6 separate regions of the Homo sapiens genome follow, and regions 1, 3, 4, 5 and 6 are each linked to region 2. The links are contacts of gene promoters, found by promoter capture Hi-C in blood cells and fetal thymus (Javierre and others, 2016). All regions are on one chromosome and are shown on one strand. Each heading gives the region's core, a stretch centred on a gene start or on the middle of the fragment in contact. The rest is flanking DNA. Distances are from core to core; before and after follow the strand shown.

Region 1 (4,892 bases), core at 2,382-4,881, 3.8 Mb before region 2:
AACAATCTGGGATTTGATATTTATTTATTTGATGAATAATCAATATTTATTCAACAAATAAATATGTATTTGATGACTAATTAAAACGTTATTTAACATATATATTATTTGATGAATAAATATTTATTTGATGAAAAACTAAGTGGGTGAGAAGAGATTTTCCTTACAGTAGAACACCAGCTAATAAATATAGGAAGAATGATGAAATTAGAAAATCATCATTATATGAAAACACCAGTAATAGCTGTTTCAGAGAAGAATGTGAATAGATAATGTGAAAAGTTGATGAGAAATAGGACTTTTACATAGTCTCAAAATATGTCTCCACAAGATACTTATTAATTACAAAGGGAGAAACAGTACATTTACATTGGAGAGACCAGGAAGATCCACCTTAGCCAAATGATCAAAGTTAGCACACAGTAATGGGACAAACGAGATCATGTGCCTCCTGATATGATGCACTGAGAAGGACACAGTTATGCCTTCTGTGGTATTCCTGCCAAAAAGGCATACCTTGGATCTAATCATGAGGAAGCTTTAGACAAACCGAAATTGAAGGTCATTCTAGAAAATAAATGGCCTGACTCTTCAAATACATCAAGGTCATGAATGACAACAAAAGACTGTGCAATTGCTCCAAGTTAAAAGAGATTAAAGAGACATGAAAATGAAATGCAATGTGTGATCCTAGATTGGATTGTTGACCAGAAAAAAAAAAAGCTTTTTTCCATAAAGAACATTAGTGGGACAACTGTTAAAATTTAAAGAAGGTCTGTAAAATGCACACGCACACACACACACACACACACACACACACATACACAGAGAGAGACCAAGAGAGATGGAGACAGAGAGAAATGGAGACAGAGCAAGAGAGAGGGAGGGAGAGGTAGGAAAAGGGAAGCAGGGGAAGGGGAAGGAGAAGGGAAGAAGGATAGAGGAGTGGAAATGAGGAGAAAAAGCAAATGCATTAAAATACTAACATTTAGGGAATGTAGATGAAGGGTATATATAAAAATTCTTTGAACTATTCTTCTAACTTTTCTGTATGTCTTTATTTTTATTCTGGTAAAATATATATAACATAAAATTTACCATTTTAACCATTTTAAAGTGTACAATTCAGTGGTATTTAGTTCATCCACAAAGTTTTGCACCCATCACCACTATACAGTTCCAGAATATTTTCATTACCCAAAAAGGAAACCGTATTTCCAATAAGCAGTAATTCCCAATTTCCCCAGTGCCTGATAAGCATGAATGTGCTTTCTGTTTCTATGGATTTTGCCTATTTTAGATATTTCATATACATGGAATCATACAATATGTGGCCATTTGTGTCTGGCTTTTTCCCCTTAGCATCATGTTTTCAAGGTTCATCCATGTTGTTGCATGTATGAGTACCTCATTTCTTTTTACAGCTGAGTAGTATTTTGTTGTATGGATATACAACATTTTGCTTATCATTCATCAGCTGATGGACATTAGTTATTTCTACTTTTTGGTTATCGTGAATAATGCTACTATGAACATTTGTGAGCAAGTTTTTCTTTGAACACCTGTTTTCAATCATTTGGGATATATACCTGCATCCCATGGTAATTCTATGTTTAACTTATCGAGAAACTGCCAAACTGTTTTCCAAGTGGTGGCACCATTTTACATTCTCACCAGCAATGTATGAGTGTTCTCGTCAACACTTCTTATTGTCTATTTGTTTGAGTATAGTCATTCTAGTGGGTTTGAAGTGGTATCTCCTTGTGGTTTTGATTTGCAATTCCCTAATGACATTGAGCATCTCTTTATGTGCTTCATGGCCATTTTTAAACTTCTTTGAAGAAATAGCTCTTCAAGTCCTTTGCTCGTTATGGGTTGTTTATTTTTTTGTTGTTAAGTAGTAAGAGTTGTTCACATATTCTGGACAGTAGACCTTTATCAGATACATGATTTGCAAATATTTTCTCCCATTTTGTGGGTTGTCTTTTTGTACTTTTGATTATGTCCCTTGAGGCAAAAATTTTCCAATTTTGATGAAGTCCAATTTATCTATTTTTCTTTCATTGCTTGTGTTTTTGGTTTCATAGCCAAGAAACAATGGCCCAATCCAAGGTCATGAAGATTTACTCCTATGAGTTCTTCTAAGAGGTTTAGGGTTTTAGCTCTTATATTTAGGTCTATTTTGAGGTAATTTACTTGTTATTTTCATAACATTTTGAGTCAATTTCCTTGTTATTTATTTCTAATTTCATTCTATTTTGACCTAGAATATACTTTATATGATTTAAATCTTTTAAAATTTACTGTGATTTGTTTTGTGGCCTAACATGGTTTAGCCTTGAGAATGATCCATGTGCACTTCAGAAGAATAGTGTTGAATAAAGTGCTCTACAGATGTCTATTATGTCTAGTTGGTGTATGATGCTCTTCAAGTCTTCTATTTTCTTCTTGATCTTCTGTCTAGTTATTCTATCCATTTTGAAAATGAAATATTGAAGTCTCAACTATTATTGTTGATTTGTCTATTTCTCCATTTAATTCTGTTAGTTTCTGTTTCGTGTACTGTGGATTCTCTTATTAGATGCACATATGCTTATTTTTTATTTTGTCACCAAGGCTGGAGTGCAGTGGCGTGATCATAGCTCACTGCAACCTCGACCTCCTGGGCTCAAGGGATCTTCCCACCTTAGCCTCCTGAGTAGCTAGAACTACCAGCACACGCCACTACACCCGACTAATTTTAAAACTTTTTGTAGAGACAGGGTCTTGTTTTGTTGCTGAGGCTGGTCTCGAACACCTAGGCTCAAGTGACCCTCCCATTTTGGCCTCCCAAAGTGTTGGGATTACAAGGGTGAGCCACTGCACTTGGCCCACATATGTTTATAATTGCTATATGTTATTGATGCATTGTTCCTTTTATGACTATAAAATGTCCTCTCTAGTAACAATTTTTGTCTTACTGGCTGTTTTGTCTGATATTTCTATAGCTACTCCAGTTCTCTTTTGATGACTATTTGCATGGAATATCTTTTTCCATCTTTTCACTTTCATCCTATTTGTGTCTTTGGACGTAAATTGAGTCTCTTGCAGATATTATATAGTTGGAGTCTGTTTTTTAATCTATGCCACTAACTCTGCCTTTTAACTGAAGAGTTTAATCCATTTACATTTTAAAAAACTGGTAAGTAAGGCCTTGCTTCTGCCATTTTGTTGTTTATTTCCTTTATATCATATCTGTGTCTTCTCTTATGTTTAATTGATTTTTCTAGTGTATTATTTTGATTCTCATTTCCTTTTATGAATGTATATTTTTAGTTATTTTGTTAATGTTACCTTGGGGGTTATAATTAACATCCTAAATTTATAATAATTTAGTTTGAATTAATACCAATTTAGCTTAAATAATGTACAAACACTGTGTTCCTATGTAGCTCCACCTTCTCCCTTTATGTTGTTATTGTCATACATTATATCTTTATACATTGTGTGTTCATTCAGATACATTTATAATTATTGTTTTATGCATTTGCCTTTTAAATCATGTAGAAAAAAAGTGAGTGACAGGCCGGGTGCGGTGGCTCACGCCTGTAATCCCAGCACTTTGGGAAGCCGAGGTGGGTGGATCACCTGAGGTCAGGAGTTCGAGACCAGCCTGGGCAACATGGTAAAACTCTGTCTCTACTAAAAAAGACAAAAATTAGCCAGATGTGGTGGCATGCACCTGTAGTCCCAGCTACTCAGGAGGCTGAGGCAGGAGAATCACTTGAACCCAGGAGGTGGAGGTTGCAGTGAGCTGAGATCATGCCACTACACTCAGCCTGAGCAACAGAGCAAGACTCCGTCTCAAATACAACAACAACAACAACAACAAATGAGTGACAAACAAAAAATACAATAATACTAGCTTTTATGTTTACCTATGTAGTTTCCTTACTGATGTTTTTATTTTTTATTTTTTTGTATAGCTAGAGTTACTTGTGTTCTTTCATTTCTTCCTGAATAATTTCCCTTAGCATTTCTCATAGGGCAGGTCTACTAGAAGCAAACTTCCTCAACTTTTGTTTGTATGAGAATGTCTTGATTTCTTTCAGTTTTTTGTTTTTATTTTATTTTATTTTTTGAGACGGAATCTCAGTCTGTCGCCCAGGCTGGAGTGCAGTGGCGAGATCTCGGCTCACAGCAGCCTCCGCCTCCCAGGTTCAAGCAATTCTCCTGCCTGAGCTGGGATTACAGGCGCCTACCACTATGCCAGCTAATTTTTGTATCTTTAGTATAGACAGGGTTTCACCATGTTGGCCAGGCTGGTCTCCAACTCCTGACCTCAGGTGATCCACCTGCCTCGGCCTCTCAAAGTGCTGGGATTACAGGTGTGAGCCATCGTGCCTGGCCTTATTTTTATTTTTTGAGACAGAGTCTTGGTCTGTTGTCCAGGCTGGAGTGCAGTGGCATGATCTCAGCTCACTGTAATCTCCACCTCCCAGGTTCAAGTGATTCTCCTGCTTCAGCCTCCCAAGTAGCTGGGATTACAGACATGTGCCATCACGCCCAGCTAATTTTTGTATTTTTAGTATAGACAAGGCTTCCTCATGTTGGCCAGGCTGGTCTTGAACTCCTGACCTCAGGTAATCCGCCTGCCTCAGCCTCCCAAAGTGCTGAGATTACAGTGGGATTACAGGTGTGAGCCACTGTGCCTGGCCTTCTTTCAGTTTTGGTGGAGAATTTTATTGAATACAGGATTCTTGATTAACAATTGTTTTTCTTTCAGGGTTACTATACATCATCCCTCATTCTGATAAATCAGGGAATAATCTTATTAAGGATCACTTATATGTAGTGAGCTGCTTCCCTCTTGCTGCACTCAATATTTTCTATGTTTCTTTGTCAACAATTTG
Region 2 (5,080 bases), core at 2,301-4,800:
GTCTTACTGCTACTAAGTGGACTGTTAAGATTTGATGTTGGGTTGTCCCATTTTAAATCCTTTCTACCTTATAATATAATACCTAATTAATAATACCTCTTTTTAACCTAATTAATTCAATTGGGATAATAATTCAACCATCAAATATTTTAGCCTCCATATCTTTCCTTTTCCATTAAACTGTCTAGCTCTGTGCTGTCCACTATGATGGCCACATGTAGTTACTGAGCACTGGGAATGTTATGAGCTCTAATTGACATGTGCTGTAAATATAAAATACAGTACAAAAAGTGTAAAACAACTCATTCATAAATGATAATATTGGTTACATGTTGAAACGGTAACACTTTGGATATATTGGGTTAATATAAATATATTATTAAAATTCACTTCTTTGCTTTTTAATGTTACTAAAAATTTAAAAGTACATATATAATTAGACAGCACTGCTATAGATTATTATTCCAAGATTCATCTACTTTATCCCCACATACTGATCTCACAGAGAACCAACCAGTATGAAAATGTTTTTGCTGTTGAATTATTCTCATGGCTCATGAGCCTATAACATAAGATATCAAAACACTATGTTCTATAGTATATGTCAGACTGTCTTTATTTTTTACCATAATCCAAGCAAGAAAATATGTCATATTGCAAACCCAGAATGACCTGGTATTCCTTTATCATATATATACTATATTTAGTTTTACAACTTTATGAAGTAAACTTTTTACAACTTTATAAACAACTTTATGAAGTAATAGTACTTCCCCTTACAGATGATACTTTCTCTTCAATTATCTGCTGTTCTATTTTTTTGATGTTGTTTGTAACTCACTAAACCAACTTCATCACTCACTAATGTGTTGTAACCCACAGTTTGTAAACACAAGAGTGTCTGCAAGTGAGATACCAATTCTATCTACACAGAGGTGAAGGGATATTTTAGCAAATAATAAGATGGACCTGGCACTAATGAATGAGCTAGTGGAGGCCTGTAACTATAGCAGGATCTGTGGCCTATTCAGTTGGCAAAACTGAAGGGAGTTCAAAATGCTTCCTCTCTCCTATAGAGTCAGCACTAATGGACCTGTCTAATGTCCATCTGTTGTTCTGTCTGCTCAGCATTACCCTGTTCTTATAAGGAAGAGCATGTGCTTCTTTTGGTACCTGCTCTTCCTACCCAGCCCCCACTTCCCCCCGACCAGCTCCATCCATGAGGTTCAAATGGAAGCTCCCATATGTTATAAGCCATGTCTGATGGCTCATAGGTGGGAACCCAACCCAAGTGAGACCAATCAGAGCCTGTTCATGGGATTTATGGGCATCTAACTAGAACAGGGAAAAGTCCGTCTTTTCTGATGATAAAATCCCCAAAGTCTTAACTTGGAATCTGTCAGTGGTTGTGTCCTCTGCAATGTGGAAGAATTGCTTTACCATAGGAGAGAGTGAAGGAAAGAGAAGCAGAGGTGAAAGGCACAGAGAGGTCAATGGGCCCAACTCCTTGCAGGGCCAGCTTCATGGGCATGTGGCCCACGCAGTCTCATAAGGTCCCGTACTTGGTTTAATGTTCTGCTGTGGCCATCTTGAAGCTCTCAATCATTTTCAAACAAAGGACACTGCAAATTACATAACTGGTCCTGAGGCGTTGGTTCCAATATTTCCTTAAACCCAGTGGGATCCTCACCCTTCCTAAGACTGAATCATTCAGCTCTTCTTTAGATTATGTGAGATTCTTCCAACAAATTATCTTTCATGTTAAGCTTCTTAGAGGTAGATTCTTTTACTTGCAGCCAAGAAACTGGACTACACTGTGGTCAAAGACACAAGATGAGAGAAATAACACAATTCTAGAGGCTCCCAGCCCCAGTGCATGCCCAAAAGATAGAGTTCTGTCCTTGCCCCTGAGGTTTCTGATTTTTTCAGAACTGCACCTGCAGGGCCTGGATATTTCCCCCAGAGAGTCCAGAAAGGTCTTTGTGCTTTAGAAAGAACACAGGCTATAGTGGTTGGTATCATTTAGAGACCAACACTGATTTTAGGCATCTTGTAATATAATTTAAGGTGGTATCCTTAATATTGCAAATTCAATAGGCTTATATGCAAACTGTACCATGCTCATTTCTCTGAATAACTGAAAAGCAAGCAAATAAATGAAACAAAAAAACATTCCAATATAACAGTCTAATTGGGAAAGGGGGTTTCATTTGTGTAATGCCCATAATCAGCTTTAAAACATATCCATGGATTATCATTTGTTTATAGAGGAAAGTAAAATGGCCAGACTTAATGATAAGGTGATCAGTGGCTTAGTTTTGCTAGTTCCAGCATGGTTATCTTTAGACTGATATTTTGGCTGAACTATAGAACACAGAACTTGCCAACATTTTTTAAAGCGAAGGAGTGTTTGCATCTTTCAGTTTGATGTAGTGGCCTGAGGTTCCCCCAAGTCCCTTTGAACTGTTTGCTCTTGAACCACATTTGTTTCTTATGCATTTGGAGTAATTGATGCGCTCCGAAAGGAAGAAGGAATAAGAGGGAGCATGTGAGATTAGTCTTCAACAGAAAGAACAAATCTAGTTGAAACAAAAGGAGAAAAGTGAGATCATCCAGAGGCGACTGTCACTCTCAACACACACAAAAGGCTTCTTTGGGCACATTGCAGACCTTCCCCCAAGGTATTCTGCAGAATAGCCGCCAGGCACCAACAACAAAGATGTGACTCGGGCATGAGATGATGGATAAGAGGGAACAGAGTAACAGAGGTTGTGTTCTTGAGACCTGTGTCATCTTGAAAAACGCCCTGAATTCAGCATTGTTTATATTCCTCGGGAATATGTTAGTGCCTGTAGGTGATCCATGTAAGAAATTCTGCGCGGTATCTGCCTGGTCTCTTACAAACACTCTGAATCCTACGTCCTGAAAAAGGTACAGAAGGATGTCAATCCCGGCTTCCCCTCCCAGGGAATCGTGGAAAACATACTATATCAATGCCTTGATGTGTCACCTTGTTTCATCCTTACACTAGGTCTGTAAAGCAAGTATACAGTGTCCTTGGTTGCAGTTCAGTCATTCGGCGTATATTTATTAAGCACATATTGCCTGTGAAGCACTGTGCTTCTGGGATACTGCAGCGAATAACACAGGTGCGATCCCTTCTCCTTTGGGGTTTACTTTCTCAGAGAAAAAAAAAAAAGAAATAAGTAGATAAAATAATTGCCAGGGAAATTGGGGTTATCATGGAAAGGTACAAGGAGTTTGAGAGAAGGAAAAAGAGAAGGGGCAGCCCAGCTTTCCACCTCTGCCTCTCCCGGGCACCCCCAGGCTCCATTCTCTCCTCCCTATACTCCTGCCCAGACAGCACCCACCTCCCCTTCCGCCCCCTTTTCCCTCCTTCTTTCCCTCCTCTCTCCGCTCCCTCTCTGACCTGCCGCCCCTCCCTCCGCTCCCCTGCCCTTTTGCTCGACCAGGGCCCCCGGGAGCCCTCTACCCCCACCCCATGGCCCAACCGTCCGGGCACGAGCCCCGCCCGAGCTCACCGCCCCTGCTCCCCTCTCCGACCCTTTGAGCCGTGGCCGTTGCCAGATGTCCACAATGGGAAACGAGGCCAGTTACCCGGCGGAGATGTGCTCCCACTTTGACAATGATGAAATTAAAAGGCTGGGCAGGAGGTTTAAGAAGTTGGACTTGGACAAATCAGGGTCTCTGAGCGTGGAGGAGTTCATGTCCCTGCCGGAGCTGCGCCACAACCCGTTGGTGCGGCGAGTGATCGACGTCTTCGACACCGACGGTGATGGAGAAGTGGACTTCAAGGAATTCATCCTGGGGACCTCCCAGTTCAGCGTCAAGGGCGACGAGGAGCAGAAGTTGAGGTTTGCGTTCAGCATTTACGACATGGATAAAGATGGCTACATTTCCAACGGGGAGCTCTTCCAGGTGCTGAAGATGATGGTGGGCAACAACCTGACGGACTGGCAGCTCCAGCAGCTGGTCGACAAAACCATCATCATCCTGGACAAGGATGGCGATGGGAAGATATCCTTTGAGGAATTCAGTGCTGTGGTCAGAGACCTGGAGATCCACAAGAAGCTGGTCCTCATCGTATGAGCCTTTTTCTTACAAGCACCACCCAACAACTTCTGCTTTCTTCCCTATCTCTTTCAAGATTTGCTCAAGACGTCCAACTGTCTCTCTGACTTATCTGGAAGTATTTCTTTTTGTGAAGCCATATGTCCTAACAGGAGCTTCATCACCAACTCAGTGCTATTAATTCTCCTTCTCTGAATGACTCAGGGTACCCTATAGGGGGAAGAGCAAGTCAAATGAGCATAGTGGGGAAAGAAAAGGAAATGGCTTTTATAAACATCTTTTACTTTGTTTTGATTCAAAGACCAAACTAGAACTTTAAAAGTTCAAAAATAAGAAAGTATACATTTTTGCTGTTATTTCTCATCATTTTGTATATGGGAGGAAATTTATAATTTGCATGGGTGTTAGGTGAACTGTTTTCATTTGCTTGTGTTCAGATATCTTGCCAGATTGTTAACTTCCTATTGTAGCAACAGGGACAAATATATTTGTCTTTGCTGGGCATCTCGTAATCACTTTTCTTAGGGGACAGAATCCCATCTTTTCCTTCGGCAGATTGCAGCCCCATTCCCCACAATGCATCCAGAAATCGCTGTGCATGTTTGAGGGGTAGGAGTTCATTTGGCCTCCTCCTGACTTGTTGCTCCAGCTCCTGAACAGAAACTAGCTTCAGGGCTCTTATAGGAAATGCTAAGCCTGGACTAAGTGCCCAGCTCAGCCATCATCCTCATTAGCAGTGGGTTTCCAGGGTTGGCAGCCCACACCAGCATTAATTTCAATGAAGGGGACCTCCAGCTAAATAGGGCAAGCAAAGTGTTCTCCCAGAAAGTGCTCTCACCTCCGACACTGGTCCCTACCCCCAGGTGGAGACAATGAGACATTTAGTTAGTTGTCCTACGGAGGAGAGGCAGTAGAGTCAGGCTGCAGTGGAATCTCCCTAGGATGCCAAAGTGGCATTATGTCTGTTGCTCACAGATGCAGAGACTGA
Region 3 (4,909 bases), core at 5-2,504, 3.1 Mb before region 2:
GTAGTATTATGGGGAGACTAGAAGAAACTCAGCATGGTCTTTGCAGACCATTTGGGGCATCAGTAGTGGCTCCAGGGAGTAGTGGAGTACTGGCTCCAGGGAGATGAAGGGAAAAAGTTTCTCCATTCCCTTTCCATATCCTTTGTCTTCCTCTTAGAGAGTACTACCTACACCATGATTTGGGAGGAGATTAAAAAAAATTAGATGATACCAATGTGTTGGTATGTTGGAAAATATTCCCTTTGTCTTGCACTTCTTTTTCCTGTCTCTATCTACATTGGCATATGGATTTGTTCCCACAAAGTGGGCAGTTACGGTAGCCGTTTTAATTAGATAGAGCATAGCTGTTTTGAAGTAGAGGAAAGTGGAAGGAAAGAAGAGGTGGAGAAGAAACAAATTTGTGCTAGCATAGAAAGAACACTAAACTTACCACTTGTATCTTGGGCGATGGTGTTGTGCTAAACCCCTATTAATCTCAATAGGGGCGGCACCAGGTGCAAAAGGCCAAGAGACCCAGAGTCAGCAAATGAGACATGGGGTTTATTAGGGAATTACATACAGGGAGAGAGTCCAGGGGTGGTGGGCTGGACAGAAAAACCACAACTACCTGTAAAATCATGCAGTTTTATATGGCATTTTCACTTAATCCTCTCCTTAACAACCTCCACCTGGCAACCTTCATCCAACCAAAAGCTTAGGGACCCAATTCCCTGCACGGCCCATGTTTGGGACAGGCTGTTTATCACAGAGAAAGAACAAATCTCTGGGTTGGCTACTCCTAGATTCCCTAGATCAGAACACACATTCGGGTGCCTCTGTCATTACAGTGTCATTCTAAGGGTATGCTTTATGTGTTTACCCTATAGGTGGGGATGTCGAGGATACAAAGATGAAGGAAGAAGAATGGCTGTCTTTCTTTCTATTCAGAAAAGATCCCAGGTGAAGAAGTCCATGTTTCAGAATTTATTTTAAATTTTAATTTATTCTTTTCAGCTTATATGTGTTAGTGAAATATTTCAGGATTTAGATCAAAACAAGAGAAAGGGAAACGGTAACTTCGCCAAAGACACTGAATCAACCCATTACACAGGCCTATCCTAACCTATTAGGTATCTTTCTCCAATTCATACCATGTCTCCTCCCATGACTGTGTTAAGGAGGAATTATTAGGAGGACTTTGTTTCCCCATGATCGCCATCAGTCTCCTCACAAAAGACATCCTAATAGAGAAATACAACTTAAAGGAAAATATGTGCTTGCTCTGCAGCTTCAACGAAAGTCCTCTAGTTCATCCTCTAATCACATTGTCAACTCTGGTTCTCTCTAACTCTGGAGCCACTACTGATGTCCCAAATGCTCTGCACTGACCATGATGAGTTTTGCTCAGTCTCCCCATAATACTGCATTTTCTTTCTTTTTTTTTTTTTTTGTTCTTTTTTTTTTTGAGACAGAGTCTCACTTTGTCACCCAGGCTGGAGTGCAATGGTGTGATCTTGGCCCACTGCAACCTCTGCCTCCTGGGTTCAAGTGATTTTCCTGCCTCAGCCTCCCGAGTAGCTGAGATTATAGCCTCCTGCCTCCACACCCAGCTAATTTTTGTATTTTTAGTAGAGTTGGGGTTTCACCATGTTGGTCAGGCTGGTCTCGAACTCCTGACCTCAGGTGATCCGCCCGCCTCGGCCTCCCAAAGTGCTGGGATTACAGGCATTGAGCCACTGCGCCCAGCTTGCATTTTCATCATTATGCATTTGTGTGTGGCGTCTTCTTAAACTGGAAGGATTGTTCTTATCTATTACCTTTTCTAGGAAAGCTTTCTCACCTACTATTGTGAGGAGGATGCCCTTTTTATATACTGTCATAAAACTGTGCATATCTGTCTTACAGAATTCTACATTTATTCAACAGAAACTATGCCATGTATACTATGGTAGGTAATAGAGATCCTATTGTGAGATCTTGACTTTCAAAATCAAGACTGGATTTTGCACTGGATGCAGAATGCTTACAATAGTTATTTCACACTTTCAAGAAAAAATTTCTGTGCTGTATAATATGTTTCAATGTGAAAAAGTTATAGAACATTTTGTAGAAACATTTTATCAAGCAAAAATAGCCTTGTTTTCCCAAACTTTCAAAGATAGACGAAAACTGTAGATAATCTTATTTATGAATGTATATGGTATAACCATAATTAAAGTACATCCAAACTGTATATACTAAAGTGATACAATTTATTTCATGGATTAATAAAATTCCAAATTAATATTTGAAAATCTATCAACATACTAAACAAATAAGCAAAAAACCCAACACATGGTCTTCTAACAAGACGCTAAAGTGCATTTGGTAAAATACAACATTCACTCTTGGTCAGACCTCTGAGTAATCTAGATACAGGAAGATCGAGAATTAAGATGATAAAGGAGATTATTACTCTCAAATCATTGGGCAGCATAATTCAAAATGGTGAAACTGTAGCAGTGTTTTTTCTTAAAGTTTGCAAAGATAGTGTTAGCACTATTATCAACAATTTTTCACTAGAATGAGCCAACCAAATGGAATAGCATATCCATGGGTTGGATCCATATGTCCTATTATGTTTCAAGTTTAATCATGGTTTAAAAGGTTGCTATGCTTTTTTTTTTTTTTTTTTTTTACCTCCAGGTGCTGGAATTCTGGTTTGTGGGGTTGGTAGGTTATAATATACACATAAGAATACATCCTCTCATATGTTAAACAACTATGAAAGTTGTAATCTTGGAGAATAGTAAATGAAAAGGAAAATCCCCATGATATAATACTGTGTTAAAAAGAATGTCTCGGCCGGGCGCGGTGGCTCACGCCTGTAATCCCAGCACTTTGGGAGGTTGAGGCAGGCGGATCACAAGGTCAGGAGTTCGAGACCAGCCTGGCCAATATGGTGAAACCCCATCTCTACTAAAAATACAAAAATTAGCCAGGCATAGTGGCACGTGCCTGTAGTCCCAGCTACTTGGGAGGGTGAAGCAGAAGAATCGCTTGAACCCGGAAGGTGGTGGTTGCAGTGAGCCAAGATCTTGCCACTGCACTATAGCCTGGGCGACAGAGCGAGACTCCATCTCAAAAAAAAAAAAAAAAGAAGACTGTCTCATAAGCATATAAATGATCACAGTTTTGTATATATGTGACTGAAAGAAGTTACATTGAAATCTTAACCAGTTTTTTTTTTTTTTCTGGAATGTGGTTCTTGGAGGGATTATTACTGTTCTTCATTTTGCCTCATTTTCTAACTTTTTGAAAAGAATGTATATTTTCTGATTATAAAAATACATAATATTTTAAATTCTCCTTTGAAGGAAACAGTGGTGAGAGTTTGAAGAATTTTGGTCCAATTTTCACTAATACCCAAGATCAAGTGAGAATAGTTATTGGAAAGAAAATTGGAGAAAGGCTTTCTGTTGATTTATGACATAAACTGACTTAATGCCATTGAATATTCTGACTTCAAGAGATCAACTTGACAAATATATTCACTCTGAGAAGACACACTAACACAGTCCCAGTTCTTAGATTAGGATTCTAGAGCTCACCACTTAGAATGTGGCTAAGGTGGGCAGTGTGGGTAGGATGATAAGACATCCAACTGTATCACACAGTAAAAAGAGAAGGCAGAGGAGATACCCATGGTGGGAAGGGGTAGGGGAGTAATAGCAATGATTATTACCTCAGTTTCATTTCTGCCAAAAATGGGTAAAGTTCCAGTGCCCCTGGCTCTCTGTTTTTTTGTACATCTCTTTCCAAAGGGTCGGTCTGGTCTTTAGATTGATGCTCAGCATTGGATATCACCTATAGATGAAAATCAAACTCTGCTTGAGAAATATGTTTCTGAAGTGCTCACCCTTCTCCCCATGTTTACCAATAAGAAAGAGTAGTATTTTGCTTGTAAAGCATATGTACTCACCCAGATTCCCTCATTTTAACCAAAGAAACTCTCAAAACAGACTGCGCCCTCAGAAGGAAATTGAATTCACTAAGTATTTATTGTATCCTATCTCCTACTCCAGCTAGATTATCCTGCTGTTTATATAATAACTTATTCTTCACAATAGCCAACATCCCTGGTACTAGAGCTCCAGTGCTTGTCCGAATAAATGAGCCCTTCTGAGCCCCAAAGGAGCTAATAATAAGCAGCAGTGCTCTAGTTAGAACAAGGCCTCTTCTCTCCCTCTCGCATAGGTTAGATAATTATCCTGGGTTTTTTCATCCACGTTTCTGTTTGGTTACCAAAAATATGTGTTTGTTGCTGGAAGTTTCAGTTAGCCATGGGCTCAGTGCTGGGATTGATTCACCCTGCTGTCTTCATGCCCTCGCTGTCTTTAGGGCTATGTCACAGTGCAGTGCCCTTGAATCTCTATAAGCCTACTGTGCCCCAGTCCATGTACTCCATATTACCCTTTGGCTACTGATAAGGAGAAGTACTGCATCTTAGCTGGAAGACGTATACTTCATCCATTTACCTCTTTCTTTCTGAAAATACTTCTTCCCAGCTTTGCCCTAATGTTCCCATTTCAAACATCTGTATAGGGTCCTCATCTTCTCCACTTACAATGGATAGCATGACTTATTGGGATTTCAGTTTCTTCCAAAACAGTCTCCCTCTTTTTCATCAGTGTTTTGCTAACTTCTTGTGTCCACATACTGAAGTCACTGTAGCTGCTCCTTCTCAATCAGTTGACGTCTCAGCTCTCTCTCTTTGAGCTATAGCCATACTCTAGAACACAATCACAACTCTTAAAAGTGGCATGGGAGAGATAAACAATAAAGCTTTCAGCCATAATTTTATATCCAATAGTAAATTAATGTGTCACATAAGTACTTTCCTTCCTCTGAGCCCCAATATTTCCAGAGGACCTGCCAGTGGCTCTGGTAG
Region 4 (5,005 bases), core at 2,169-4,668, 3.1 Mb before region 2:
AATTTTACATTGAACATCACATACCAACCAACTAGATTTTACCACTAACATTTTACTAGGTTTATTTCCTTCCTTCCTTCTCCTCCTTCTTTTCTTCTTCTTCCCCTTCCCCTTCCATTTCGCTCTTGTCGCCCAGGCTGGAGTGCAATGGGGCGATCTCAGCTCACTGTAACTTGCACCTCCTGAGTTCAAGCGATTCTCCTGCCTCAGCCTCCCAAGTAGCTAGGATTGATTACAGGCATGCACCACCATGCCCAGCTAATTTTGTGTTTTTAGTAGAGATGGAGTTTCACCATGTTGGCCAGGCTGGTCTCTAACTCCTGACCTCAGGTGATCCGCCCGCCTCAGCCTCCCAAAGTGCTCGGATTACAGGTGTGAGCCACCGCGCCCAGCCTCATATCTATGTTTCTATTCATTGCTCTATCCTCCCACTAAATCCATGTCATTTGTGGATGCTTTTAAAGTACATTGCAGATATCGTACACTTTTCTCTAAGTACTTTAGCATGTGTATCATTAACTAGAGTTTAATATTTGTTTATGGTTTTTTCTTTTAATTTAAAATTTATATACAATAAATTCATAATCCTAATTATTCAGTTTTGACAAACACATCCCTTTGTCACTCAACTTGCTACTGCGATATAGAACGTTAACATGACCTCAGAAAAGTTCCCTCATTCCCCATTCCCGTTGATACCTGCTGTAACTCTTCCTCCACATGGGCAGCCACTGTTCTAATTTTTAAAGCAACATTAATTCGTTTTTACCTGTTTTATAACTTCAGTATATACTCTTCTAAAAACACTTTGGCTGCTATGCAGAGAAGGAATTGTAGGAAGATGAAAGAGGAGTCAGAGATGTGATTTGGGAAGCCATTGCAGTAGCCTATGTGAGATGATGATGGCTTGGACCAGGGCGGTAGCAGTGGAAGTGGTCAGACTTAGAGTAAATTTTGAATATAGAGCTGATAGAATTCACTAGGGGGCTGGATGTGAGTGTATGTTGATGCCACTACCTGAGATGGGGAACACTTGAAGAGAAGTAGTTTGGGGATAAGAAAATCAAGGTTTCTATTTTGGACATGTTATATTTCTTAGTTTTTGGTTTTTTTTTTTTTTTTTTGAGACGGAATCTTGCTCTGTGGCCCAGGCTGGAGTGCCATGGCGCGATCTCGGCTCACTGCAAACTCCGCCTCCCGTGTTCACGCCATTCTCCTGCCTCAGCCTCCCGAGTAGCTGGGACAACCGGCGCCCGCTACCACGCCCGGTTAATTTTTTGTATTTTTAGTAGAGACCGGGTTTCACCGTGTTAGCCAGGATGGTCTCGATCTCCTGACCTCGTAATCCGCCCTCCTCGTCCTCCCGAAGTGCTGGGATTACAGGCGTGAGCCACTGGCCTGGACATGTTATATTTCAAATGCCTAGAGTGTATCTCAGAGCTAGAGATACTTATACAGGAGTCACTGTTTTATAAGTTAATATTTTATTTTGGTCATTGTCAAATTATAAGCATAATAAAGTAGTTCACAGATTATATCTATTTATAACTAGGTTAGATGGACTTTGCTGATCTGTTACAGACAAACCTCTGATGCCCAGAATAAACAAAACCATATATGCAACAAAGGAAATATTATTTTAAGCAGGATTATTGCTAGCTATATGTATTACATACAACACAGTCACATTGCTCATATTCTATGAAAAGAAAATTAATAAACAAATAGACTTTATACAATAAAGCAAAATGCAGTGATCCAAAGAATCTATTCATTGAAGCCCACTGTTAACATTTGTGGTATTACAAGGACAGATAACTCACAGCCTCTGTGTCTGATGACCTTTGAATAAAATAACAGACATATTGTATATATAATTGAAGAGAATAAAAAACACATAATAAAAACATAATAAACACTTCAAAGCCTAAGTAGATTGTATAAGAATTTAACTTAGAGGAAGACAAGGTAGAGTCTTGCTAGGATGATTTTAGAAGGCTTTAAAGTCAGAGGAGACTTTTTTTGAGGAGAACCTTGAATTTTCATAGTAGGTTAAAGGGATGGCAATTTTAGGTGGAGAGAATGGTATTTGCAAAAATGCAGATGCAGCAGTCATAAGGATTATTCAGGCAATGGCAAATAAAATTGTTTAACTTCAGCATAAGAAAGACAATCACCCATTCACTCATTCAACACATATTTACAATAAATGCTTATTTTGTTCTGGGTACCAAGGACTGTTAAGTACATACTACTTTCATATCTTTCCCTCAGGGAATCCCCTCAGTCTGTTAGGCAAGATAGATATATATGGAGAAAGGTAAGGGGAATGTATATTTTTTGTTGCATGACATTTTGTTAAGCACCGAAGAAGGCATTTTGCATTTTTTTTCCCTTATTCAATTCCCATAAGACCCCTTAAGCTAGGGACTAAATGCCACATTCTACGTCAAGGGAAATGGAGTCTCTGATAGGTTAAAATTTATTATCCTAGTAAATTACAGTGTTAGAGTTTGTACCCATTTCTTCCATTTAAAAAACTATGCCACATTGAATAAATACAATATAACAAAACGTTTAATAAAGTCACATTATAAAATGTTATTTTTGCTTAGTCTTGCTTTGGCTGTGTGGGCTCTTTTTAGTTCTATGTGAATTTTAGAATTGTTTTTTATAACTGTGAGGAATGATGGTGGTATTTTGATGGAGATTGCATTGAATTTGTACATTGCTTTTGGCAGTATGGTCATTTTCACAATACTGATTTTATCCATCCATGAACATGGGATCTTGTTTCCACTTGTTTGTGTCATCTGTGATTTCTTTCAGCAATGTTTTGTAGTTTTCCTTGTAGAGGTCTTTCAACTCCTTTGTTAGGTATATTCCTAAGTATTTTATTTTATTTTTTGCACCTATTGTAAAAGTGGTTGAGTTCTTGATTTGATTCTCTGCTTGGTTGCTGTTGGTGTACAGAAGTGCTACTGATTTGTGTACATTAATCTTGTATCCAGAAATTTTGCTGAATTCTTTTTATCAGTTCTAGGAGCTTTCTAGAGGAGTCCTTAGGGTTTTCAAGGTAAACAGTCATATCGTAAGCAAACAAGTGACAGTTTGACTTCCTCTTTGCCGATTTGGATGCCCTTTATTTCTTTCTCTTGTCTGATTGCTCTGGTTAGGACTTCCAGTACTATGTTGAAGAGGAGTGGTGAGAGTGGGCATCCTTGTTTTGTTCCAGTTCTCAGAGGGAATGCTTTCAACTTTTCTCCATTCAGTATCACGTTGGCTGTGGGTTTGTCATAGGTAGCTTTTATTACATTGAGGTGTAACCCTTGTATGCTGATTTTGCTGAGAGTTTTAATCATAAAAGGATGCTGGATTTTGTCAAATTTTTTTTCTGCATCTATTGAGGTGATCATGTGATTTTTGTTTTTAATTTTGTTTATGTTGTGTATCACACTTATTGACTTGAGTGTTAAACCATCCCCGCATCCCTGGTATGAATCCCACTTGATCATGGTGGATTATCTTTTTGATATGTTGTTGGATTTGGTTAGCTAGTATTTTGTCAAGGATTTTAGCATCTATGTTCCTCAAGGATATTGATCTGTAGTTTTCTTTTTTGGTTATGTCCTTTCCTGGTTTTGGTATTAGGGTGATACTGGCTTCATAGAATGAATTAGGGAGGGTTCCTTCTTTCTCTATCTTGTGGAATAGTGTCAAAAGGATTGGTACTAATTCTTGTTTGAATGTCTGGTAGAATTCTGCTGTGAATCCGTCTGGTCCTGGACTTTTTTTTGTTGGTAATTTTTAAATTACCATTTCAATCTTGCTGCTTGTTATTGGTCTGTTCAGGGTATCTAATTCTTCCTGATTTAAGCTAGGAGGGTTGTATTTTCTCAGGAATTTATCCATTTCTTGTAGATTTTCTAGTTTATGTGAGTAAAGGTGTTCGTAGTAGGCTTGAATGATCTTTTGTATTTCAGTGGTGTCAGTTGTAATATCTCCTGTTTCGTTTCTCAGTGAGGTTATTTGGATTTTCTCTCTTCTTTTCTTGGGTAATCTTACCAATGGTTCATCAATTTTATTTATCTTTTCAAAGAACCAGGTTTTTGTTTAATTTATCTTTTGTATTTTGTTTTGTTTTGTTTCGATTTCATTTAGTTCTGCTCTGATCTTGGTTATTTCCTTTCTTCTGCTGTGTTTGGTTTTTGGTTTGTTCTAGTTTCTCTAGTTGCTTGAGGTGTGACCTTAGATTGTTTGTGCTCTTTCAAACTTTCTGATGTAGGCGTTTAGGGCTATGAACTTTCCTCTTTGCACCGCCTTTGCTGTATCCCAGAGGTTTTTATTTTATAGGTTGTGTCATTATTGTCATCAGTTGGAAGAATTTTTAAATTTCCATTTTGATTTTGTTTTTGACTCAGTGCTCATTCAGGAGCAGGCTATTTAATTTCCGTGTATTTGCGTGGTTTTGAAAGTTCCTTTTGGAGTTGATTTTCAGTTTTATTCCACTGTGGTCCAAGAGAGTGCTTGATATAATTTCAATTTTCTTAAATTTATTGAGGCTTGTTTTGTGGCCCGTCATATGGTCTATCTTGGAGAAAGTTCCGTGTGTTGTTGAATAGAATGTGTATTCTGAGCTTGTGGACGAAATGTTACACTGTATTATATATTAGATATACTATATAATATAATTATATATATTATATATACTGTATGTATGTATAAATATTCTGTATACATCTGTTAAGTCCATTTGTTCCAAGGTATAGTTTAAATCCATTGTTTGTTGATTTTCTGTCCTGATGACCTGTCCAGTGCTGTCAGTGGAGTATTGAAGTTCCCCCACTATTGTTGTGTTGCTGTCTATCTCATTTCTTAGGTCTATTAGTAATTGTTTTATAAATTTGGGATCTCCAGTGTTAGGTGCATATATATTTAGGATTGTGATATTTTCCTTTTGGACAAGGCCTTTTACCATTATGTACTGTTCCTCTTTGTCTCTTTT
Region 5 (4,440 bases), core at 508-3,007, 3.0 Mb before region 2:
AGAGAATGAGAAGACAAACCAGCTGCTGGGAGACAATATATGCAAATCACATGATAAATAACTCATATCCAAAATATATAAAGAACTCTCAAAACTCAACAAGGAAAAAAAATTAAAAATGAGCAATAGAACCAGCATGGTGGTGCATGCCTGTAGTTCTGTGTTCTGGTTAAGCTGGTAGTTACATGAATCTGTAGTCCCAGATACTCAGAGGCTGAGGTGGGAGAATGGCTTGAGGCCAGGAGTTTGAGGACAGCCTGGGAAAATAGCGAGACCCCCATTTGTTAACAAAAAAAGGGGGCAAAAGATACTTTACTAAAGAATGGAAAAACATCATCAGTCATCAAGGAAATGTAAAATAAAATCATAATTAAATATGACTATCTATTAGAATGGATAAAAAATTACTGACAATATTAAATGATGAGATGGGAAGCAAGTGGAACTCTCATACATTGTTGGTTGAAATGCAAAACTGGTACAGCCACTCTGGAAAACTGTTTGGCAGCTTCTTATACATTTAAACATGCTTATTGTCTCATTCCTGGATATTCTAAAAAAATGAAAGCTTATGGTTATACAAAAATTGGGGCAGAAATATTTATAGTAGCTCTATTCATAATTGCCCCAAACTGGAAACAATCCAAATATCCTTCAAAAGGTGAACAGATAGGCAAAATACAGTAATCTACTCAATAGAATACTATTTAGCAATAATAACTTGAATGGATCTCAGAGGCTTTATCTAAGTGAAAGAAGCTCAACCCCAGTGGCTCATATGATTCTATTTATATGTATTTATATGACATTATGGTAAACGTAAAACTATAGGGATAGAAAATATCAGTGGTTGCCAGGATGTACAGGTAAGTGGAAGAGGTGACTAAGAAAAGAATATCACAAAGAAGTGTTTTGGGGTAATAGAAGAGTTCTGTGTTCTGGTTATGGCCGTGGTTATATGAATCTATACATGTTTTAAAATTCACAGAACCATACACTAGGAAATAAAAAGTCAGTTTATGGTATGACATCTAACTGTATGATAATTTTAAAAAACAACAAAAAAATTCCACCCCTAACCAAAGAAAAAGGTGTTTGCACTTTAACACGAAGATTTCATATTATTGGGCTTTACATGAATTGGTCGTGTTCTCTGGATAATCAGGAATGCAGTAATCACTGGTTGGGTTCATTTCTGATGATTCTCCCTCCAGATTGACACACTTCTTTCAGTGTTGGAATACATATGGGTTATTGTTGAGTTCTCCTGACCTGGGAGTGAGGTTTTAAAGTAAATTACCAAATCTCTTATGCAATACACTCTGTATTGCTTTTATAATTCATTAAAAAACCTCAGGCAAGTATGGGACACAAACAGGTAGTCTTGGAGCCTAGGCTTTGCTACACATTAGTTATATGACTTTAGGCTGAACTCTCTCACTTTAGGTTTTCTTATCTTTCAAATGATAATGTGGAGTTTAAATTAAGTAATGTGAAAAAAAATCACAAAGTTCCTGGCCAAGAATGAGTGATCAATATCATAAGCTTTCCCCTCATATTTCTCTTCCTGCATTGTTAATTCTTTTCATTCCATTTCCGTATATTCCTTCCTCCTCTTCCCTATTTTCTCTTTCTTCAATACTTTTATGGGTCCGTGGCAAATTTTTATATTTGTACATTGGTATACTTGGATTTACCATGTAAATAAATTATATTAATTTTTTTGACTTCTTACAGGTAAAAGAGAGACATTTAAATGGAATGGGAAAACCAAACCATTCTGGTGGAATTTTTTCTGAAGGGACATTCTGTTCACCCAAGGCTTGAGTTACTCTTTTTTGTGCTAATCTTCATAATGTATGTGGTCATCCTTCTGGGGAATGGTACTCTCATTTTAATCAGCATCTTGGACCCTCACCTTCACACCCCTATGTACTTCTTTCTGGGGAACCTCTCCTTCTTGGACATCTGCTACACCACCACCTCTATTCCCTCCACACTAGTGAGCTTCCTTTCAGAAAGAAAGACCATTTCCTTTTCTGGCTGTGCAGTGCAGATGTTCCTTGGCTTGGCCATGGGGACAACAGAGTGTGTGCTTCTGGGCATGATGGCCTTTGACCGCTATGTGGCTATCTGCAACCCTCTGAGATATCCCATCATCATGAGCAAGAATGCCTATGTACCCATGGCTGTTGGGTCCTGGTTTGCAGGGATTGTCAACTCTGCAGTACAAACTACATTTGTAGTACAATTGCCTTTCTGCAGGAAGAATGTCATCAATCATTTCTCATGTGAAATTCTAGCTGTCATGAAGTTGGCCTGTGCTGACATCTCAGGCAATGAGTTCCTCATGCTTGTGGCCACAATATTGTTCACATTGATGCCACTGCTCTTGATAGTTATCTCTTACTCATTAATCATTTCCAGCATCCTCAAGATTCACTCCTCTGAGGGGAGAAGCAAAGCTTTCTCTACCTGCTCAGCCCATCTGACTGTGGTCATAATATTCTATGGGACCATCCTCTTCATGTATATGAAGCCCAAGTCTAAAGAGACACTTAATTCAGATGACTTGGATGCTACCGACAAAATTATATCCATGTTCTATGGGGTGATGACTCCCATGATGAATCCTTTAATCTACAGTCTTAGAAACAAGGATGTGAAAGAGGCAGTAAAACACCTACCGAACAGAAGGTTCTTTAGCAAGTGAATGCAAAATGTACTGGAGTGTGAACACACTTGATATTGTTGAAACTTCAGAATTATGTTAGAATTTTGGATACTTTTACTATTTTTCTGCATTTTCATATATTATGTTAAAATAATGAGATACAGCATTTCAAAATTATTGCATGTCCACTCTAGAGAATTTGCAAGATACAGGGCAGTAGGATGAAGAAGACAGAGGGGCTACCTATTACTCTAATAGTGGGAAATGGCTACTTTTCAACATTTTGAACAGTATCTTTCGTATTATGGTTTTTAAATTTTTGCTGTATTGGAATTGGGTGTGATGTGCCTTTTTATGTTCACTTTTCTACATAATGTTATTTCATAGGCAACATTTCATTGACTCTTTCAAAATAAATAAAGCCCTCTGTTGTAGAAAAAGCAAAACAGAAAAAAACCCAATATACTGCACTCACATTTTCCAGTGGCAAGCCTTGTGTTATAGTTTCACATTAATCTCCAGATCCTGTTGAGTCATTAAATACTATTTTCTTGTTCTGTATTTAAATATTTTTGTGTGAAGCTGAGTATTTGGGACTATCAAGGGGCAGGAGATAAATAGAGTTTAAAAGCAGGGCCTATGCAATCAATCGGGATATCCTGCTTTATGGTCTTTCTTTGCTTTAACTTATAGGTTGGCTTTAGCATAAAGAACATTTTGCAAAATTAAAAATAGGTTTGAAAATCAGTCTACTGGTCCAGATAATAATGTGGACTAGTTTTGGGTTGAATGGAGTGTCCTATCAATGCCCATTTAGAAGATGCCCAATTTTTTTGCTATCCCGAGGGAATTCCAATATTTTTCCAAGTCTTAGAAGAATGTCCAAGCTCTTAATTTTTAGTACAAATACTATTCATGTCTTGTCTCTGTTACTAACCAGCTTAATTTGAGGAAGAAGAGGATTGGGGAATGTCAGACATTATCTTGCTTTTCCTTGGTTTTTACGTCAACATTTTACTCTATGTGAAGAACATTTTAAATTTACAGCCCAAGATGAATGATGAAGTGTGTTCAGGAGTGAACCACCTTCTAGGTAATCAGTTTAGCTGAAGCAATTTTTATTAATGGACCAGTGAATTTAGAGTATATTGGGCATAAACATATTTTACGTAGACAAGTAAGAATTACCTGCTTGTGGAATCTTTGGGTTTAGTCACTCGTTTAATCTTCCCAAGTTCACTTGTTAATTTTAGTGGAAAGAATATTAAACAGTCACAAACTATATTTAAATATATCCATCATAGTTGTTTACAGATTAAATCTGATGGCAAGAGTTGAAATTATTGATAATTAAATTTACATCCTGACAAAATGGGCTGTGAAAATCTATTAGTTCCCATACACGAGTTCATTGGACTTTTTGCACCCACTAAGAATTCCTGGTAGGTAGAAAACTCCGGAAGTCAGGCATTTTATGTTTGACTCATAGTCAGGTTGTCTTGAATGCTCAAATGCTAATTTTGTTTTCCTTCACAACTTAAATCCAGCCACTTTGATAAATTCTCTGGGATGACTCAGGTGGCTCCATAGTGTTACATCAGATTTATACCATTTTTTATTATTATACTCTAAGTTATAGGGTACATGTGCGCAATGTGCACGTTTATTACATAGGTATACATGTGCCATGTTGGTTTGCTGCTCTCATCAACTCGTCATTTACATTAGGTATTTCTCCTAATGCTATTCCTCTCCCAACACCCTAC
Region 6 (5,123 bases), core at 316-2,815, 3.1 Mb before region 2:
CAGTTCTGTATTGAACTCATTATCTTGATACACTTATTAATTATCTAAGTGGAAATGTGCAGTAGGAAGTTGAATATATGAATCTGGATGTTAGGGAAGTCAGGAATGGAGATACATATGTAGGAATTACTGGTTTATAGATTAATATTTCTTCTTGTTAAATAATGACCTTAAGAAAGTAGCTCTGGGATTCTTATCTGTGTTTAATTCAGTTAGATAGACTCTGCCTGACCTATTATAGTCGCGGTTGTTACACTCAGGTGAGACAAAACCAGGTAAACAACACTGAAACACATTGTTTTTTTAATTGACAGAGTCTCACTGTGTCACCCAGGCTGGAATGCAGTAGGCAATATTGGCTTACTGCAACCTCCGCCTCCTGGTTTCAAGCAATTCTTATGCCTCAGCCTCCCTAGTAGCTGGGACTACAGGTGCACGCCACCACACCCAGCTAATTTTTTTGTGTGGGCTTTTTGTTTGTTTGTTTGAGACTGAGTTTCGCTCTGTCACCAGGCTGGAGTGCAGTAGTGTGATCTCGGCTCACTGCAACCTCTGACTCCCAGGTTCAAGTGATTTTTCTGCCTCAGCCTCCCAAGTAGCTGGGACTACAGGCACCCACCACCACGCCTGGCTAATTTTTTTATTTTTAGTAGAGACAGGGTTTCACCATGTTGGCCAGGATGGTCTCGATCTCCTGACCTTCTGATCCACCTGCCTTGGCCTCCCAAAGTGCTGGGACCACAGGTGTGAGCCACCACACCTGGCCTTTTGTGTGTTTTTAGTAGAGATGGGGTTTCACCATGTTGGCCAGGCTGGGCTCAAACTCCTGACATCAAGTGATCTGCCTGTGTTGGCCTCCCAAAGTGCTGGGATTACAGTTGTGAGCCACCACACCTGGCCTGAAACACTGTTGAAGAGAATGCTGTCTCAACTGGGCTTATTGCTAGTTGTGTGTATTCCCTGTAACATCATACAAGACACAACCTTCAAAAGAAAAATGCCTGTTTAAAAAAGTTGAATACACAAATTGCACTGATCCAAATTATCAACGTGTTAATTGTGGAGATTACAAAGACCAGTAACTCTACTTCTAATGACCTTTCAATAAAGCAGGATATACAAACAACACACAAATAGAAAATAAATCTTCATATTATAAATATTATGAAAGATTGCTAAACAAATCCAATTTAGTTAAAATGATAAGTAGGAGCTTCAAGGCAGAGGAGGCTTTTGAGGAGGGTCTTGGATTGTGATAGATTAGAGAGATTTTGATTTTAGATAGAGAGAATGGCATGAACAAAGATGCAGAGGCAGCAATGATTGGCAAGGCTTATTCTAGTAATGGTAACTAAGCTTGCTTAGCTTCAATGTGTGAAAAGCAATCATGCCTTCATTCATTCAACAAAGAACTATAATGAACATCTATTTCCTGAGGACTCCACTTTACGTCTTTAAATTTTATGTTCCTGGTGAACTACAGAGTTGGGATTTTTATCCATCTCTTCCTGATTTCTAAAATGTGTGCTTTCAACTACATCCCTCTGAATAAATAGTATACAATATATAATACAAATTATAAAAGAGGCACAAAGAAGCATATAGAAACACTGAAGTGGGAGAAGTGATTTTTTCCTGGAGGGTTTAGTAAAGGCTTCACAGAAGAGGTGACATTTGAGTTTAGCGACAGTGCGACAGAAAAAATAACCCTTGATTTGGGAATATTAATGTTCAACTCTTCTCAAAATCCATCTATCAAAAGAGCAGAAGCTTCCAGTTATTGATCTTTATAATCTTCAAAATAATTAAAAATGTGAGATACAATCAATATATATCCTAGCTCACTGACATAAGCCTCAATACTTAAAGTCTGTTTTTTCCCTTGTTTTAAAACTTACCATCCCCTGAACTGCTGGTCCAAGGAAGAGAAATTTTATTTTACCTGATAAAAGATATTTACATCAAAAGAATATTATCATATGAAATGAAAGCAAGAGAGAGGGAGGAAAAAAAAAAAAAGCAAAGCTGGAAAATGGAGAGATGCTCCAAAACAGCTGGGGGATATGATGCCAGTGGATAAAAGAAAAAGTAATTCTTATCAGTGTTACTGTGGTAGGAAATATTTGGATTCCTTCCATGGTTTTTAAGAAAGTTAAGTAGAGGTTGAAAATTATTTTGATTGCTTGACTGTTTCCTTTTTGAGAATGAGCCATGGAAATTTCAGCTTTGTAAGCATGTAATAATAACACTAGTAATACTGTTAATCATGAAAGACATCTATTAAAGTCTTAGGAAATGCATTGGGTTCTGTATTTAGTGGGTTCTCTATCTAGTTATTTGTTGAAAATGCTCAATTTATAAGTGCTATAGCATGTTGAATGCTTTAATGGAACACATCTCAGATCGTGGAAAACAGAGAAAGCACCCCCAAAGCTCCTCAGAGTTAATAGATATTACTATTTTAATACTGCATATTGATTTTATTTGTTTCAAATATCATGTATTATGTATACCTTTAACCAATATTATATTGCTTGAAGTTGCACCTTCTTCATTCTCCATGCTAAATATTCCATTATTCTACTTGTGATAAACATTTATATTTTTCTAGTGTTTGTATAAGGTATGAATAGTGCTTTTATTAACATACTTATATGCATCTTTGGTGTAAATTTGTATATAATCACTCTATTGAATATATAGTTTAGAAAGAATTCTGAGTTATAGGGTATGCAAATACTTAGCTTCATACACATCTCCAGTTCTATAAAGTATTGGTACCAATTTAAGCTCCCACCAGCAGTATGTAAGAACTTAAGTTGCTTTACATCTTTGGAAACACTTGGTATTATCTCTGTTTTTCATTTTAGCTGTTGTGGTGGGAGTGGTAGCATATTATTTTATTTTTTTATTTCCCTGAAGTTAAGCATTTTTCATACATTTATTGCATATTCAAATATCCTTATTTGATGAAATGTACATTCACTTTTTTTTTGGTCCATTCTTCTACTAGGTTGTCTTTTTAAAATGGATTTTAAATGATTTTTCATATCTTATTTATATGAATCCTTTGTTAAAAATATTTATTTAAAAAATATTTTTCCTTTCTGTTTATGTTCTTAATGATGACATCTAATGAATAGAAGTTATTAATTTAAATATAATTAGACCAATTCACAATCTTTTCTTTGTGGTTATTCTTCTATATATTCTTCTAAAAGAATACTTCTACGTATTATTCTAAAAGATGTATTGTTCCATTTTTCATATCTAAATCTGTAATCAATCTTGATTTGATTTTTGTGTATAAAGTAGGGGCCAAGATTAAATTTTTTCTTTTTGGATATTCAATTGATCCCCTATTAGCTTCTTTAGTTGCACATTTTTACCTTAAAATATTATTAACAGATTAAGAAAATTGAGGCTTAAGTAACGGGCCCAAAATCATGCAGCTTTTATTTGACAGAGGCTTACCATGATCAGATTGATTTTTTGGAAAGATAACGCAGACAAAATTATGGAGAATAGACTGAGGTGCTAGCGATGGTGTTGAAAATGAAGGTAGAAAGGCCAACTGGGAGTACCTTGCAGTAATCAAATGGAGGCATAATGTGGAAATAGTACTAAGAATAGCTGGAGGGTAGTTAACAGATGTGAAAGATGTCTAGGAGTCCAACTTTATAAGTTTTGATAGTTTAGATTTGGTGGTGCCATTAATCAGTTAGGAATTGCAAGGGAAGTCAACAATATAACACTTGCATTCTGAGTGGTTAAAAATATGCCAGGTACTGGCCTTAATTCTGTAATTACAGTGATTAACAAGAGCAAGATGGTGCTTATTCTTAAGGTGCTTGCTGTTTGGCCAGACACAGATAATTAAACACGTGATTGCAATAATGTGTGATAAGTGCTGTATTAAGGGAGATATAGGATGTTATCAGGGCACACAGGAGGGTTGCCTAACTCAGACTAGGGGTCAGGAATGACATCTTCAGGAGATTCTGGGAGAAGGATAATAGCAATTAAGCAAGAAAAGGAAGAGTTCCCTACCCTCTGCATATGCTATGCTATTCTTTCTCCCTCAAAAATTCTCCATTTGCTCTTTGTTTTCTAGAGAGAGAGGAGGGGGGTGGTGGGGGAAGGTGGTATATTCTAAAAATTAAAAGAAGCTCCATTTTGGTTGCACATGGGATAAAGAACAGTTGGGAGAGGTGAAATTTTGTGAAATATGAGGCTAAAGAGTTATTTAGGATCTAGAGCTCAGACAACTTTGCAGTTCAGTTTAGGCATTTTGGAAATCATCAAAAGAACAGGGGGTAACATTTCTTTTCATAATAGGAAAGTAGCAGGAAGATAATGTAGTGTAAGTCAACATGGTGAGTGAAAGACATGTGTTTTACTTACTGCATTTAGATAAGATGCTACCATAAAATGCCCAGGAGAGAAATCTGGGATGAGGCCTATGGATTTGGATTCACCAGTTTATTGATGATGCATTGAAACCATAGAGTGAATGAGATTGCCCTAGGAGATAATCTGGAATTTTAGGTGGTAGTTGTTTTGTGGGGAGACATTAGTATCAGGTCAAAGTGTTCATGTCTTAGTTGGAAAGCCAAGGTAAGTTTTTGAATTGTGGTGATGATGAACACCATGAATTAGGAAGATTAATTTGGAAAAGGTAGCAGACTCTATAGAATTAAAAAAGTTTAGATTCTGTGAAAGCAAATAGATTACTGTAATCTCCAAGTTGAAAAGAATCTGGATAGTAGCAGAAAACAAAAAATAAGGGATGGCTTTTAGAATAAAAAAAGATCTGGATTCAGATTCCATCTCAAACACCAATGTTCACATTGTTTACCATTACCTAGAAGAGTGTAGGCTCTTATATATTTGTTCAATGAATGAATGAAATGATCTTTGCTAATTATAAGTCTAAAATACAGACTGAAATTCTAATTTTAGTTCTAAAAATAAACTCAAGTGGTAATTGTTTCAAAGAATACAACTAAAAACAAAAAGTAGAAAATATACACACAAAAGAACAGATTTTGGATTCATATAAGCAGTTTTTGACAGTAATAACTAGATTCCCTCAGAACAGATGAGCTTCCCATTATTAGAGG

What was found. Contacts are between HindIII fragments. The CHiCAGO score rates a contact against its expected background, and 5 or more counts as called.
Region 1: a fragment that was not itself captured here is called in contact with the fragment with the promoter of PPP3R2 in region 2 in 1 of 17 cell types (naive CD8 T cells); the score reaches 5.4 in naive CD8 T cells.
Region 3: a contact is called between a fragment that was not itself captured here and the fragment with the promoter of PPP3R2 in region 2, in 3 of 17 cell types (naive CD8 T cells, M2 macrophages and total B cells). The highest score is 8.1, in naive CD8 T cells.
Region 4: a contact is called between a fragment that was not itself captured here and the fragment with the promoter of PPP3R2 in region 2, in 2 of 17 cell types (total B cells and naive B cells). The highest score is 13.7, in total B cells.
Region 5: the fragment with the promoter of OR13C9 here is called in contact with the fragment with the promoter of PPP3R2 in region 2 in 1 of 17 cell types (endothelial precursors); the score reaches 8.2 in endothelial precursors.
Region 6: a contact is called between a fragment that was not itself captured here and the fragment with the promoter of PPP3R2 in region 2, in 3 of 17 cell types (endothelial precursors, naive B cells and activated CD4 T cells). The highest score is 10.2, in endothelial precursors.

The regions. Positions count from the first base shown.
Region 1 is chr9:105,407,382-105,412,273 of GRCh38, reverse strand. It overlaps a transcript of SLC44A1 not described here. Among named protein-coding and RNA genes, the nearest start is that of FSD1L, 38 kb to the left of the region's middle. The HindIII fragment of the contact is 5,811 bases long and covers 726-4,892 here.
Region 2 is chr9:101,593,439-101,598,518 of GRCh38, reverse strand. PPP3R2 (protein phosphatase 3 regulatory subunit B, beta) reads left to right here and starts at 3,550. Exons shown (of 1, transcript NM_147180.4): 1 at 3,550-5,080. The coding sequence starts at 3,598. The coding sequence ends at 4,110. The region is part of intron 6 of GRIN3A (glutamate ionotropic receptor NMDA type subunit 3A); the gene reads left to right. It overlaps LOC105376186 (a long non-coding RNA gene), which reads right to left and starts at 3,545. Exons shown (of 3, transcript XR_001746863.2): 1 at 3,431-3,545; 2 at 3,011-3,176; 3 at 2,704-2,922. The HindIII fragment of the contact is 3,598 bases long and covers 1,769-5,080 here.
Region 3 is chr9:104,687,165-104,692,073 of GRCh38, reverse strand. It overlaps LOC107987105 (a long non-coding RNA gene), which reads left to right. Exons shown (of 5, transcript XR_007061705.1): 2 at 867-939. Among named protein-coding and RNA genes, the nearest start is that of OR13D1, 4.9 kb to the left of the region's middle. The HindIII fragment of the contact is 1,117 bases long and covers 696-1,812 here.
Region 4 is chr9:104,727,263-104,732,267 of GRCh38, reverse strand. The region is part of intron 1 of LOC107987105 (a long non-coding RNA gene); the gene reads left to right. Among named protein-coding and RNA genes, the nearest start is that of NIPSNAP3A, 18 kb to the left of the region's middle. The HindIII fragment of the contact is 9,199 bases long and covers 1-5,005 here.
Region 5 is chr9:104,615,521-104,619,960 of GRCh38, reverse strand. OR13C9 (olfactory receptor family 13 subfamily C member 9) reads left to right here and starts at 1,757. Exons shown (of 1, transcript NM_001001956.1): 1 at 1,757-2,713. The coding sequence starts at 1,757. The coding sequence ends at 2,713. All of the region lies in intron 3 of LOC107987105 (a long non-coding RNA gene), which reads left to right. The HindIII fragment of the contact is 920 bases long and covers 1,548-2,467 here.
Region 6 is chr9:104,668,802-104,673,924 of GRCh38, reverse strand. All of the region lies in intron 2 of LOC107987105 (a long non-coding RNA gene), which reads left to right. Among named protein-coding and RNA genes, the nearest start is that of OR13D1, 23 kb to the left of the region's middle. The HindIII fragment of the contact is 414 bases long and covers 1,359-1,772 here.